Regions from separate parts of the Homo sapiens genome. Here all the other regions are linked to region 2. The links are contacts of gene promoters, found by promoter capture Hi-C in human tissues and cell types (Jung and others, 2019). All regions are on one chromosome and are shown on one strand. Each heading gives the region's core, a stretch centred on a gene start or on the middle of the fragment in contact. The rest is flanking DNA. Distances are from core to core; before and after follow the strand shown.

Region 1 (4,621 bases), core at 1,721-4,220, 950 kb before region 2:
TCTACCAGCTTAATGAGACTGTGCAAATAAGACCAGTGTTATAGCCCTATTGAGAGACAGGACTAGCTGGATTTCCTAGGCCAACTAAGAATCCCTAAGCCTAGCTGGGAGGGTGACCACTTACACCTTTAAACACGGGGCTTGCAACTTAGCTCACACGCAACCAATCAGATAGTAAGGAGAGCTCACTAAAATGATAATTAGGCAAAAACAGGAGGTAAAGAAATAGCCAATCATCTGCTGCCCGAGAGCACAGTGGAAGGGACAAGGATCGGGATATAAACCCAGGCATTTGAGCTGGCAACGGCAACCCCCTTTGGGTCCCCTCCTCTTTTATGGGAGCTCTGTTTTCACTCTATTTCACGCTATTAAATCTTGCAACTGCACTCTTCTGGTCCATGTTTGTTACAGCTCGAGTTCACTCGCTGTCCACCACTGCTGTTTGCCACCATCACAGACCTGCCGCTGACTCCCAACCCTCCGGATCCGGCAGGGTGTCCGCTGTGCTCCTGATTCAGCGAGGTGCCCATTGCCGCTCCTGATAGGGCTAAAGGCTTGCTATTGTCCCTGCACGGCTAAGTGCCCGGGTCCATCCTAATCGAGCTGAACACTAGTCACTGGCTTCCACGGTTCTCTTCCGTGACCCACGGCTTCTAATAGAGCTATAACACTCACTGCATGGCCCAAGATTCCATTCCTTGGAATCCATGAGGCCAAGAACCCCAAGTCAGAGAACACAAGGCTTGCCACCATCTTGGAAGTGGCCCGCCACCATCTTGGAAGATGCTCGCCACCATCTTGGGAGCTCTGTGAGCAAGGACCCCCGGTAACACTATCAAAGGAAGTAGGTGGCTGGGTGCAGTGGCTCATGCCTATAATCCCAGCACTTTGGGAGGCTGAGGTGGGCGGATCACGAGGTCAGGAGATCGAGACCATCCTGGCTATCACGGTGAAACACCATCTCTATGAAAAACACAAAAAATTAGCCAGGCATGGTGGCGTGCACCTGTAGTCCCAGCTACTCGGGAGGCTGAAGCAGGAGAATCACTTGAATCCGGGAGGTGGAGTTTGCAGTGAGCCGAGATTGTGCCACTGCACTCCAGCCTGGGCGACAGAGCAAGACTCCGTCTCAAAAACAAAAACAAAAAAAAGTAGGTTAAAAAAAAAAAAAGGAAGTAGGTGTCAGATTCTCCTCTACAGTAATCCCCCTTATCCATGGCGTATATGTTCCAAGACCCCCATATCCTGGGGGTCTGAAGTGCCTAAGTTTTAGTCTGGATGACTGAAACCATGGATAGTATTGAAACCTATATATATATATTACGCACAAATTTCGTTTTCCTTTTTCACAATTTCAGATAGAATATTCATCCTTATTTAATATCTAAGCAACCTGAGCATATGATTTTTTAAATTTCCTTATAAGTCAAGAACTTTCACCTTTTCACTTAAAGTAGGCACTTCACAGCTTCTCTTTGGCATATCCGAATTGCCAGCATCATACCTCTTGCGCTTTGGGGCCATTATTAAGTAAAATAAGGGTGACTTGAACACAAGCTATACGATACCTTGACACTTGATCAGATAACAGCCAGCTCCTAAGTGATTCGTAGGAGGGGACATGCAGAGCATGGATGTGCTAGACAAAGAAATGATTCAATCCCAGGCAGGACAGAGAGGGAAAGTGGGAGATTTCATCACACTCTTGGAATGGCATGTAATTTAAAACTTATGAATTGTTTTTTTCTGGAATTTTTCATTTCATATTTTCAATGATTGACCAAAGGTAACTGAAACTTGGGAAAGTGAAACTGTGGATAAGGGGGGACTACTGTACCGTGAAACACACAAAGAGAAAAGGCACACCGAAATCACCACTTTTCCTACAATCCTTTCCTAATTTAAATTCTAATTAGATAAATCCAGAAGTAGGGGAGATTACAGAGGATGGGGACGAAGCTCCACCCTGGGAGAATAATCAGAGACGTTGTGAAGAAATGGGTAGGAGTAGAAGAGGAAGAACAGGATTTGACAGAAAGAATGCTCCTTTTTCTTGCATTGACCATCCCTTGAGAATCATCATGAGGTCCAGGAACGGTGTTGGGGGCACTGGAGACACGCTCAATGCTCTGTGCAAACAGGCCTTGAGTGGGCACTTTCCATACCTGGAGCCTGCTAAGATTTAGAAGGGTTAGTGGGGAAGGTTGGAGGGTGTCGGAAGGGTAGATCCCAGGTTGTTTGTTGCCTCGTTTTATATAATTAACCCACCGTAGGCCGGGCATGGTGGCTCATGCCTGTAATCCCAGCACTTTGGGAGGCCAAGGTGGGTGGATCACCTGAGGTCAGGAGTTCGAGACCAGCCTGACCAATATGGTGAAACCTGGTCTCTACTAAAAATATAAAAATTAGCCAGGTGTGGTGGCATGTGCCTGTAGCCCAGCTACTCAGGAGGTTGAGACAGGAGAATTGCTTGAACCCCAGAGGCGGAGTTTGAAGTGAGCTGAGATCGTGCCACTGCACTCAGCCTGGGCAACAGAGCAAGACTCCATCTCAAAAAAAAAAAAAAAAAAATTTAACCCACTGTAGTCTAGGCTGCGCTTTCAGGGCAGATTTAGCCCTTCACAGACAGAGTCACGGTGCTGTCCAATGACATTTGCATAATAAAGGAAATGTTCTCCAATTCTGTGGTAGCCACTAGCCACATGTGGCTACTGAGCATCTGAAATGTGACTAGTGCAACTAAGAAACTGAATTTTAAATTTTGCTTTAGTTAATTTAAGCTTAAATATCCACATGTGACTAGTGGCTACGATCGTGGATGGCAATGTGAATTAGGGTGTGGTGAGGTTACCAGTGGCATCATGAGAGCTTTAAGCTTTCTCCAGCCCACCGGAAGGAAGGTCAAGCTCATCAGGGGCACTACAGATATTCTTGGTAAAACTTATCTGAAACACATTGTTGAAAATTAAAGCTTCTGGACCTGCAACTCATGAAGAAATTCTACAATTCTTGTACTCTTTTTTTCTCTATCATTTGCTCCATCTCAGATTGCTAAAAAAAACAATGGGTTTGGAAAAGTATCCAAACATGGCCCTTAAACCCTTTGTGTGGGCATAGGCATAAGTATTATTTAATCTTTACCAGTAACACTATGAGATAGCTAGAATTCCCATTTTCCAGGTGAACAAACTAAGGTTCAGAGAGTTTTAAAAACTTGCCAGAAACGCTCAGCAGAAGAAAGGATTTTTACCCAGATCTATCTGATTTCATTACATCCTTAACCACACACATGAATGTTCCATAATTCAAGCCACAAATGTACTTTTCTCCTCCTGTTTCTTGCACACAAAGCATCTGGCCTCCAGATTGTTGTTTTTTTTTTCCCCATCTCTGTCATTACTGGCTTGATGTTAGAAATGCTAAGTAAAAGAAGTGCCTGGAACCACTGAATATTAATACCTGGCATTTGCACAGCGCTTTACAGTTTACAAAACATCCTGACATTTGTTATTTCATTTAATTCCCACTCCCGTCAACCATATGGGAAATTATTATCTCTTTTTAATGAAGTTGGGGGGGTGGTAACTCATAGAAACTAAGTGAGCCCCCAGTTAGACAGAAATGGACCCAGGGCTCAGACCCAGGCCTTCTGACTGGGAGACCTGGGCTGTGTCTCCTGCTCAAAGCTTTTGCCTCAGAGGCAGCAGATAGATGCAGACAGGCAATCTTAACCTTTCCGTGCCTTGAACTCCTATGACCACTTATAGAATAATGGTTTTTTTTGAGACAGTGTCTCACTCTGTTGCCCAGGCTGAAGTACAGTGGTGCAATCATGGCTCACTGCAGCCTCAACCTCCTGGGCCCAAGCCATCCTCCCACCTCAGCCTCCCTAGTAGCTGGGACTACAGGCACGTGCCACCATGCTCAGCTAATTTTTTTTTTTAATTTTTTGTGGAGACAAGGTCTCCCTATGTTGCCCAAGTTGGTCACAAACTCCTGGGCTCAAGCAATCCTCCCGCTTCAGCCTCCCACAGTGCTGGGATTACAAGCATGAGCCACCGCACACAGCCAGAGTAATGTTTTTAGATACACAAAGTCAAATACATAGGGTTTCAATGGAAACCAATTACACTGAAATTAAAAATATTTTTAATCAAATGTGTGAAATACTGTTACACATGTGCTTCTTTATTAACCCGATCTAGCAGCTGGTCTAATAACTTTTGCAGTTTCAAACCAGTGATCAGTGTAAATGATACTTGAAGGTATGTGCAACGATAGTAATGTCATGAAAATCTCTTCAGTTTCTGATAGTGAGAAAGACATAGGTACTGCTAATACTATTGTGGGGTTTTTTGCCCACATTTATAATAACAGAAAAATACTTAATTTCAGTTAAAGGCTAGTAAAGACATTTTTTCCCAAGTTCACAGAACCATTTAATTTTATCCATAGAATCCATAGGACCACCCACGTAGACCTCTCAGTCTAGAGGCTTCAAAAATCCTCAAGACTGAATCATATCTCCCTCCTCCATGACCAACGAAGAAATTTGAGATTGCTGGCTTGGATTAAGTAAGGAAAATTAGAAACATTTTGATGGCCATGACAGTCAACTTGG
Region 2 (4,461 bases), core at 960-3,459:
GTCAAGTGTTATGCTGTCCTTTCTTTTTTTTTCTTTTTTCTGACGGAGTCTCGCTCTGTCACCCATGCTGGAGTGCAGTGGCGTGATCTCGGCTTACTGCAAGCTCCGCCTCCCGGGTTCACGCCATTCTCCTGCCTCAGCCTCCCAAGTAGCTGGGACTACAGGCGCCCGCCACCACGCCGGGCTAATTTTTTGTATTTTTAGTAGAGACGGGGTTTCACCATGTTAGCCAGGATGGTCTCCTGACCTCGTGATCCGCCCGCCTCGGCCTCCCAAAGTGCTGGGATTACAGGCGTGAGCTACCGCGACGGCCTGTCCTTTCCATGCATTATCTTATTTCATCTTTCCAGCAATCCTGTAAGGTAGTCACTCTAAATATCCTATTTTGAGATGAGGAAACTGAGTCACAGGGGGGTTCAGTAATGTGCTCAAGATTGCACAGCTGGTGAGTGGTGACACTGGGACTGGAACCCAAGTGTGCCTTACTCCAGAGCCCTTGGCATGCACCTGAAACCCCATGTAAGCCCACTGTGGAGACGCGCACCTCGAAATAATGGAATCCACTACATCAGTTCCTTTAGCTTTCTGTGTAATCAGAGTAGCTAGCAGGCTCGGGATTTCGCCCCCCGGCTTTTTTTTTTTTTTTTTTTTGAGACAGAGTTTTGCTCTTGTTGCCCAGGCTGGAGTGCAATGGCGCAATCTCGGCTCACCGCAACCTTCGCCTCTCAGGTTCAAGCAATTCTCCTGCCTCAGCCTCCCGAGTAGCTGGGATTACAGGCACCGGCCACCACGCCCAGCTAATTTTTTTATATTTTTAGTAGAGATGGGGTTTCACCATGTTGGCCAGGCTGGTCTTGAACTTTTCCCCTCTTATTATAATTCAGACACTTAACCTGAAATATACCTTTTCAAATGAAGTAAATGGGCTTACCACTTTCCTTGACCTACTATTGAAAAATACATTCTCCATCCAATATTCAGCCTGAAAACAGGTATGTACATATATACTTTTCATTGCTTTTTTTTTTTTTTTTTTGAGACAAGGTCTCCCTCTGTTGCGCAGGCTGGAGTGCAGTGTCATGATCTCGGCTCACTGCAGCCTTCCCCTAATGGGTTCAAGCAATCCTCCCACCTCAGCCTCTCAAGCCTGGGATTACAGGCGAGCCACCGTGCCCAGCTAATTTTTTTTTATTTTTAGTAGAGACTGGGTTTCACTACATTGGCCAGGCTGGTCTCCAGCTCCTGACCTCAAAGTGATCTGCCCGCCTCAGCCTCCCAAAGTACTGGGATTACAGGCATGAGCCAACGCGCCTAGCCTTTCATTGCTTTTTAAAGACCTAATAGGCTAGACTTTGCTCTCCCTCAATACTCGTTGGTAGGGATAGGCAATTTTCTCAACTCCGGAGAGCATTCATTTGCCTCTCTCCGGTGCTAACACATTCAGTGGTAGGAAACTGGATCTTGAACAAGGGCCATTCATTCTTTGGTGCCACTGGCTATACCACAGAGAAATTTAGGGGTCTGAAACAATACATTGGTCACCTGGGCACCTATCCTAAGCACCTTAGAGGGAAAACGGAGACTTGCCCGCACACCTCTAAAGGATTTTGCACTTGGAGATGTTCTTATGGCCATCTATCTTTTCACCCTGGTGGAGGCCGTGAATAGGCATTTTCCCCATTTAAAGAAAAAATGGGGACGGGGGAGGGCCGTGACACAGTCACACAGGTAAGGGGCAGCCAGATGGCAGGGAGGGGGAATTCCACCCACACTCTCGGGGACTCATGGAGACGGGTGTTCGAATCCAGATCCTGCTCAAGGCCTTCCTACCTCGGGTGAGCCCAGCTGAGGTACCAGCCACTGGGGAGCCCGGCCAGATCCTGCAGATGCAGGGTGCCACGGCGGGCGGAATTACCGGCGCCAGACTTGGGGTGGGATATGGGGAGAAGTGGTGAGCCCGGAAAGCGGAGCACGGTAGAAGTGGGCTGGGTGGGGGCTCACCTCAACTCCCCCATTCGGAGCGTCCGCGGAAAAACGAAAACGTTCCCCCGCCCCGGGCAGGAAGGGGTTGGGAGGGGGGGCTGGCGCCCCGCCCCAGCGTCGCCTGCTCGATGGGGTCCCGCTCTCCTGCGCGCGCTCCCCGCCCCCTCTCTCCGGGGCGGCGGCGGCGGCGCAGGGGAAGGGGCGGGCAGGGGCCGCCGCCGGTTTCTCCTCCCACCGCCTCGCGCCAGCCCAGCCGAGCCGAGCCGAGCCGAGCGGGCGCCGCGCCGGGCTCCCGCCGCAGCCGCGCTTCCCGGCACCCAGCGAGCGAGTGGGCAGGCGGGCGGGCGAGGCAGCCGCGGGGGCCGGGCCCGGCGTCCTCCTCGCCGCCCGCAGCGTCCCCGGGCGGGCGCGGGCCGCGATGGCAGCGGCGGAGCAGGGCTGAGCCCGCTGCCCGCCCGCAGTTCCCGGCCCCGCTGGCCCCAGTCATGGCGAAGCAGTACGATGTGCTGTTCCGGCTGCTGCTGATCGGGGACTCCGGGGTGGGCAAGACCTGCCTGCTGTGCCGCTTCACCGACAACGAGTTCCACTCCTCGCACATCTCCACCATCGGTAAGGGGCGGTGGCCCGGGGCGCCCCTCCCTCCCCGCCCGCGGCCCCTTTCCCCGCCGCCCCCGTCCCCAGCTGGGGAGGAATTGCCAGCCCCTCCGGCTGGAGGCGGTGGCGCCGGAGGCCGGAGTCCGGGATAAATCTCGGGGTGAGCATAGGTTTTGGCAGGTGAGGGTGTCCCTGCTGCCTGCCGTCCGGACCAGGGGTGGGGTCTCCCGCCTCTTGCCGGGAAGCCTTCCGTCCCATCAAACCGAGAAACCGGGGGTGAGGGGAGCTGGTGTAGGCCTGGGTACCCCGAGCTGGGGTAGCAAGAATCGTAGCCGCTGGAATAACATCCCCACACCCCCAGGGGGAGGGGAAGTAAAGCTTCTGCTACGGAAAAGGGGGTCAGGGTGGAGACCGGAGTCACTGAGGCGCCCTTGGTTCTGTGGTGACCCAAGGTGGAGCCGGCGGGGGGCGAGGGGGGGAAGAGAGGACGTACGGAGGGGCCACAGGGATCGAGTTTCCAGGGCAGAGTTGGGAAGGTAAGCCGCAAGGTGGGACACCTGGGGGAGGACACAGATAGGGTGAGGAGCCCCTGCGCCTGGGAAGAGGAGACATCTGTTCTGAGGGAGGCTAAAGAGGATGGAGGAGTGTCAGGAATACCTGCCCAGACCAAGGGGTCAGAAGGCAGGCAGGACCCGCCTGAGGGCATCTCTCATCTGGCAGTGCTGGAGCCTGTGGTTAGAGGGACAAGACCCGGTGGCATCCCAGACAGCACTATGATGGGGTCACTTATTCTAGGAATGGGTCCATGGCCTCCCCTCTGAGACAGTCAGTCTCCCGCTTCTAGGCTGTGAGGGGCCCCCTCCCTGAGAAGTCTGAGTAGAGGGAATTTCATCCTCAGCTGCTACCCGGGTCAGCCCTGGAGTAGCCTCTGCATTGCCCAGGCCCCTGGAAACACCTGCTGGCTGGCTGGTCATCCATTTGGAATGCTCTCCTAGAAGTCCCTGCTGCCATCAGGGATGGGCACCAGCTCTCAGCTTCCTCTTGAGGATTCATGTCCACACCATCCCCCCTCCCCCCAACACACATTCCTTGCTGAGAGAGAAGTAGGAGCAGATAGATACAGCCAGGAGGAACAGAACCTTCTGGTTAAGAAGCCAGCTTTATTGTCCAAGAGACCTGAGACCTCACTGTGGGGCAAAGCAACCTTGAATATTGCCTAAACTTCTGAGCTTTATTTAGTTTCTCATCTGTAGAACGGGTATAATAATTGCACCTACCTGCCAAGTTGTTGTCAAGATTAAATGAGATAACGATTGTTAAGTGCTTAGCACAGCCAGACACATGGTGAAGCTCGATAAATGCTGATTGTTCTTACTGCTATTGCCATTATCATTGAGCTTTTAGGGTCTCCTCTCTTTGTTTCACCAACTTGAAGGGTGAAACAACAGGACTTAGGGTCAGGGAACAGAACTTGTCCGTCTTTCTCAGAGGAGCTGTAAGGCCAACTCTTAGGAAACCCAGGAGCTTGGGCTGAGCCATGGTTTGGATGAGAGACATTGCAGAAAGAAGGGGAGCCTATAGACACTAAGGCTTTGTGCCTGCCGGGAGGACTTGGGGAAGAGGCAGGTGCAGGAGAAAGGCATGGGCGTGATGGAGGAAGTGGCAGAGGAACCAGATGGTGTATGAGGACAGGTTGTGGGCTCAGGGACAAAGGGCGGTGGGTTATCCCTTAAGGAAACTAGGAGTGGCTATTTTTGGGAGAGGCCTGGTGCTTGGAACTACTGAGCTATCTCCAGAGAGCTGTGGGCTGCCTGGGAGGCCCTGGCTTTGGCCTGAAGAGCTGTTGTTTGCACCTGCTCTCCTAGTCCCATTCCAAGTCCTATA
Region 3 (4,362 bases), core at 1,812-4,311, 850 kb before region 2:
AAAGTCCCAGGGCCACTTTATGTACATGGCAGCCCCCTTGCAAGAATATAGTACCTGGAGAATGGAGCTAAACCCTCACTGACTCCTTGTGCCCTCCTCATTCCATCTGCCTTTCCACCTGCTTACAGCCAAGGTTATACCATCTCCTGATCCAGGTTTGAAAGGAGTTTGTGAAATCAAAAGTGCTTTAAATCAATATTTGGAGGATAGAACCAAATTCAGGATTGGAAGCAGCCAACCAGCTTTAGCCTATTAAGGCCCGACTTGCTTGGTTTGGTTCTGTACGTAAACAGTTTTCTCAGCTGGGATGGATTTATTGCCCTGCCAATGACTTCCACAGCTAACCAGACCAACCTCTGAATCTCTTTCTGCTTTTGGGTCCCACCAAGGGCAAAGTCCTTCCTATGAAAAAGAGATTATCTCCTTTACCCCCAAAATCATAGCTCTCCTCTGAAGCCAGGCATCTCCTTTCCCTTTAATTCAATTCTCAGGCTGGGATTTCTTGCCAACCCATTTCTCCAAGGCCACACACTGCAGGGAGGAGAGATGAGTCTAAAGTAACACCCAGGCTCCCTAAAGATGCTTTCAATGCTTCAAATGCTAGCATCGCAGGGAAGGGAGAGGCAAACTAGAAACTTCAGTAATTAGATTTCCTGGAATTAACTCACACATTCCATGCTGAGCAGTCAGGGTAAGCAATGCATCTTCAGCTCATCAGCATTAATTAACGGCCGTTCTTTTACACCTGACCCATTTATGGGAGTAAATCCCAGGTGATACCGTGTAGCCACCACACACCTGTGCCTTTTTAAACAGCTCCTAGGCCTCCAGGAAAGGCATCTACAGCTAATTGAGCCCGCCCTCCTTTCTCACGATAGTCAAGCCAAGAGAAAGAGAAACATACTCTTGTCAATTAAACAAACAAAAGGGAGAGAAAAACAAAACGCCACCAGCAGATTTCACATCCTATGTGCCCAGGAGGATGCCGCCACCCCAGCTGAGCAGATGTAGGATGGCTGGTTGGTGCTGTTCACCTTGTCCTCCTCTTTGCCATCCGCCCCTTGACCACCTTGAACTGCTTTGCCAGCTGCCTGCACTGATTCCCTTTCAGGAGATGGCTCAGCAACCAAAACGTGCAGTGTTTTGGTGCTGCCCTGCGCGCACAGCAGACGCTCTGTGGATGTCCGGTGTCTCAGCAGCCAGTGGGTTGCATGCCTGACATGTTATCTTCCGGCCGCCTCTGTTGCTGCTTCATAGTTTCTGATCTGCTTTGCCTGTTCCTTGTATTCTATGTTCAATCTTCCCTTTACCACAAGTTTTATCTTCTCCCAAAGAGGTGGGGGTCAGTGGGGGTCATCCTTTTCCCATTTCTATGGCAAAAATCCTGCTTGTGCAGTGAGAAAGTAGCTCCACCTCCAGGTCAGGCCCAGAGCATGTCTGACCAAGTGGAGCACCCACACCTCTGGACTCAGTGATTGGTTCACTTTGGGGGTGATGTGGGTGTCAGGGGAGGGAGGGGAATTTTCCTTCTGCTTTGTGGGAACTAAGAACCTTGCAAGCGCGAAGTTCCTCAGGTGGGGCGGGGTGCAACGTGGCAGATATTTACCATGTGCAGAGAAAGCCAGAGAGCCACCCTGGGAAGAAAACTAACACTGGGGAAGACAGACGGAGCAGAGGGTTGGAGAAAAAGTGGTGCAGGGGAGCGAAAAGTGGTTTCTTTCTACTCTTCTAGGTTCATCGGCTAGGCTATGAATTAAATTGACATAAGACAGCGTAACAGGAGAAAAGCCACGTTTAATTATATACATATGCATGGCAGTCCTGCAGAATAAACCTTGAAGACGGGCCAAGTGATTGAAGCTTATGCAGCATCCTGAGCTACAGAAAGGAATAGGGGCTTGGGGCTTTGGGGGGTGGTGGGGACACAAGTTATGGGAGCGTGAGGGGAGGAAATTTGTGCGAATAAAGGCTGTCTTGTTATGCAGATAAAAGTCTCTCCGGTAACAAATATTGTCTCAGGAGCAGAGGTGACAATCTGCCTGGGCTGGTGCCAACCTCTATTCTTCTTTCCTGTGAGCTGAGTTAATCTTCCCCAGTTGAGAAGATTCCCAGGAGGGGATTCATGACAATTGAGTTCCTTTCGGAGGATCCGTCTTTAGGCAGATAAAGGGGCTCAGAGAAAGTCTCTGCCTGCATCACTGTTTCCCAAGTCCCCTGACTTCAAAGTCATCAGCACACCACAGTGGCATATTTGGGGCTGGCATTTCCAGAACGCCTTCAGTGGGATCCTGAAGATATCGTCTGAGTGCTTGAATCAGGGAAACCTAAATTGAAGGCTTTCCTGAACATTTCTGTTCCTCAAGCCAATCCTTTATTTTTTATGCTTAAACTAATTGAAGACGGAATTTTGTCACTTGCAACTGCTGCCTCACTAATGTGTCTTCTGACCTAAATCTTGGAGTCATTTCTGTATTATTTAAGGTTCTTTCACTTGCAAGTAACAGCAACTCTATTCAAGTTAACTTATGCCAAAAAGGGGAGAGAATCCTAAGCTGCAAAGAAAGAATATGGGTGCAACTGGCCCTGGGGACGGTGGCACTGGGGCATTCTTTCTTAGGCAGCCACTCCTGCCTCTTCCCTTGGTCTGCACATCCTTAAAAGACTGCTTCCTTCGCTACCAGAGATCTGGACTTGCGCCCTTATAGACTCATGAAGAAAGCACAGTTTCGGGGAAGGACTCTGCCTTGCTTTGTGTCTGTCCCTGGACTCACCCCTGTGGCTGGGGAAGAGCAGCTGTGACTGGTCTCTTCTGGGTCACACATGCACCCAACAGGGAGGAAGGAGAGGTCTGTCGCCAGAAGAAGGTAAAGGAAAAAGTATAGGCAGTGGAAACAATACTCACCCCCAACTTCCTACCTCAGAGGTCCAGTGAAACTCCTCCCGAAAGCATCCCTGAAAAGCCCCATTCAGATTGCGGGCATCTGGTCATTTCATTCACCCGGCAATAAATCACCCTCGCAATTTGTGTCATTGAACTTTTTGGAGAATACTTTTGGAGTGTTAAAATAGGATTGACTTTCTATTGAAAGCTGTAAACATTTTTATTTGTAGCTTAATTTTTATCCTCGTGTTGTTTGACAGTTTCTCCTCAAGAGGGGAAGAAGCAGTAGGAGTCTGTTGGCAAAGCACTCCATATTGCTGAGCAGCAAGTAAACCAGCAAGCATGGCGCTTCCAGCTGCACACCGTCTCCTCTGAGACCCAGCTACAGCCATCCAACTGAATGACTTCTTGCCTTTTGGCCTTCAGAGTGCATGTGTGCCCGTGCGTGTGCACGGGTGTGCTTGGCATCATGTGTGCATCTCTAGACAATGAGGAGTGTGGAGGGACAGGTGAAGGATCAAGGCAGGAGGTACAGCCAACTCAAGAAATGAGGCAGGAGAACAATGCACAGTTCCCCTTCTCACTGTGCACGTTGACCTATTTGTCACAGGCTGAAAAGAGCTGGGAACATGGTGGAAGGCTCTTACTTGTAAATGTCGTTCAGACTTTTGAATGGATCTTTTAAGATCAGGAAATGGGATCCATAGTTTACAGGCTTTGTTAGCAGCCAATTTGTTCTACTTGATCCAGAGCATTTAGGCAACGCTACCAAAGAATCTCCTACCAATGAGTTGTGAGTGTTCTTGTCAATATTTTACACATTAACAAGGATCCTAGTTAGAATATGAAGTTAGACATGTTTCTTTCAAGGGAACACGTTACAATGACTGAGGGATAAATATAGATATATAGATATGTCTATATATTAAAGAAGGCAACATAGGACTAATTAAATATTATTTATAATCACTATATGATTTAATACATTAATCTATTAATAGTACCAAAATAAAATTTTAATCCTTCAAGTAATTTGCAATAATATTTAGTAATTGACAGCATTCCATGTAAAGCAGTAATTTTTTTAATGAATCATGTGTTAGTTAATTTAATAGGCCTTCTACCTTAAAAATAATTATGTTTGTAATTAAAACATTTCAATTAATTATAAGGGCTTCTTATGTGATTTAAGTCTATTAAAGACAATTTAATTACCAAACTTTGAATGTGTTATCATTCCAATCACAAAACGATTTTAAATACTTTTCTTAATATCCAGGTCTTTATATTAGTCATTTATTCCTGTTGATATAAAAAGCATCCTAATTTGGTCGTGATGACAGCTACTGATATCAAGAAATAGGGGGGTAATTTGAACAAATAATGGTGAACATGGTGGATAGTAGTCTGCATGCAGCCTTTCTGCGGGGCACACATGCAATAACTAAAGGTGGACACTAGAGGGAGGCAGACAGAGAGGG

Evidence for each region. The method cuts DNA at HindIII sites, captures the fragments that hold promoters and counts their contacts. A contact is called where the count stands out against the background at its distance.
Region 1: a contact is called between a fragment that was not itself captured here and the fragment with the promoter of RAB15 in region 2, in 1 of the 25 tissues and cell types used here (small bowel).
Region 3: a fragment that was not itself captured here is called in contact with the fragment with the promoter of RAB15 in region 2 in 1 of the 25 tissues and cell types used here (dorsolateral prefrontal cortex).

What each region holds. Positions count from the first base shown.
Region 1 is chr14:65,921,084-65,925,704 of GRCh38, reverse strand. No RefSeq gene overlaps it. Among named protein-coding and RNA genes, the nearest start is that of LINC02290, 190 kb to the left of the region's middle. The HindIII fragment of the contact is 3,337 bases long and covers 1,302-4,621 here.
Region 2 is chr14:64,970,084-64,974,544 of GRCh38, reverse strand. RAB15 (RAB15, member RAS oncogene family) reads left to right here and starts at 2,209. Exons shown (of 7, transcript NM_001308154.2): 1 at 2,209-2,592. The coding sequence starts at 2,469. All of the region lies in intron 3 of CHURC1-FNTB (CHURC1-FNTB readthrough), which reads right to left. RefSeq lists a silencer at 2,047-2,416. The HindIII fragment of the contact is 7,421 bases long and covers 1-4,020 here.
Region 3 is chr14:65,824,868-65,829,229 of GRCh38, reverse strand. No RefSeq gene overlaps it. Among named protein-coding and RNA genes, the nearest start is that of LINC02290, 280 kb to the left of the region's middle. The HindIII fragment of the contact is 4,796 bases long and covers 664-4,362 here.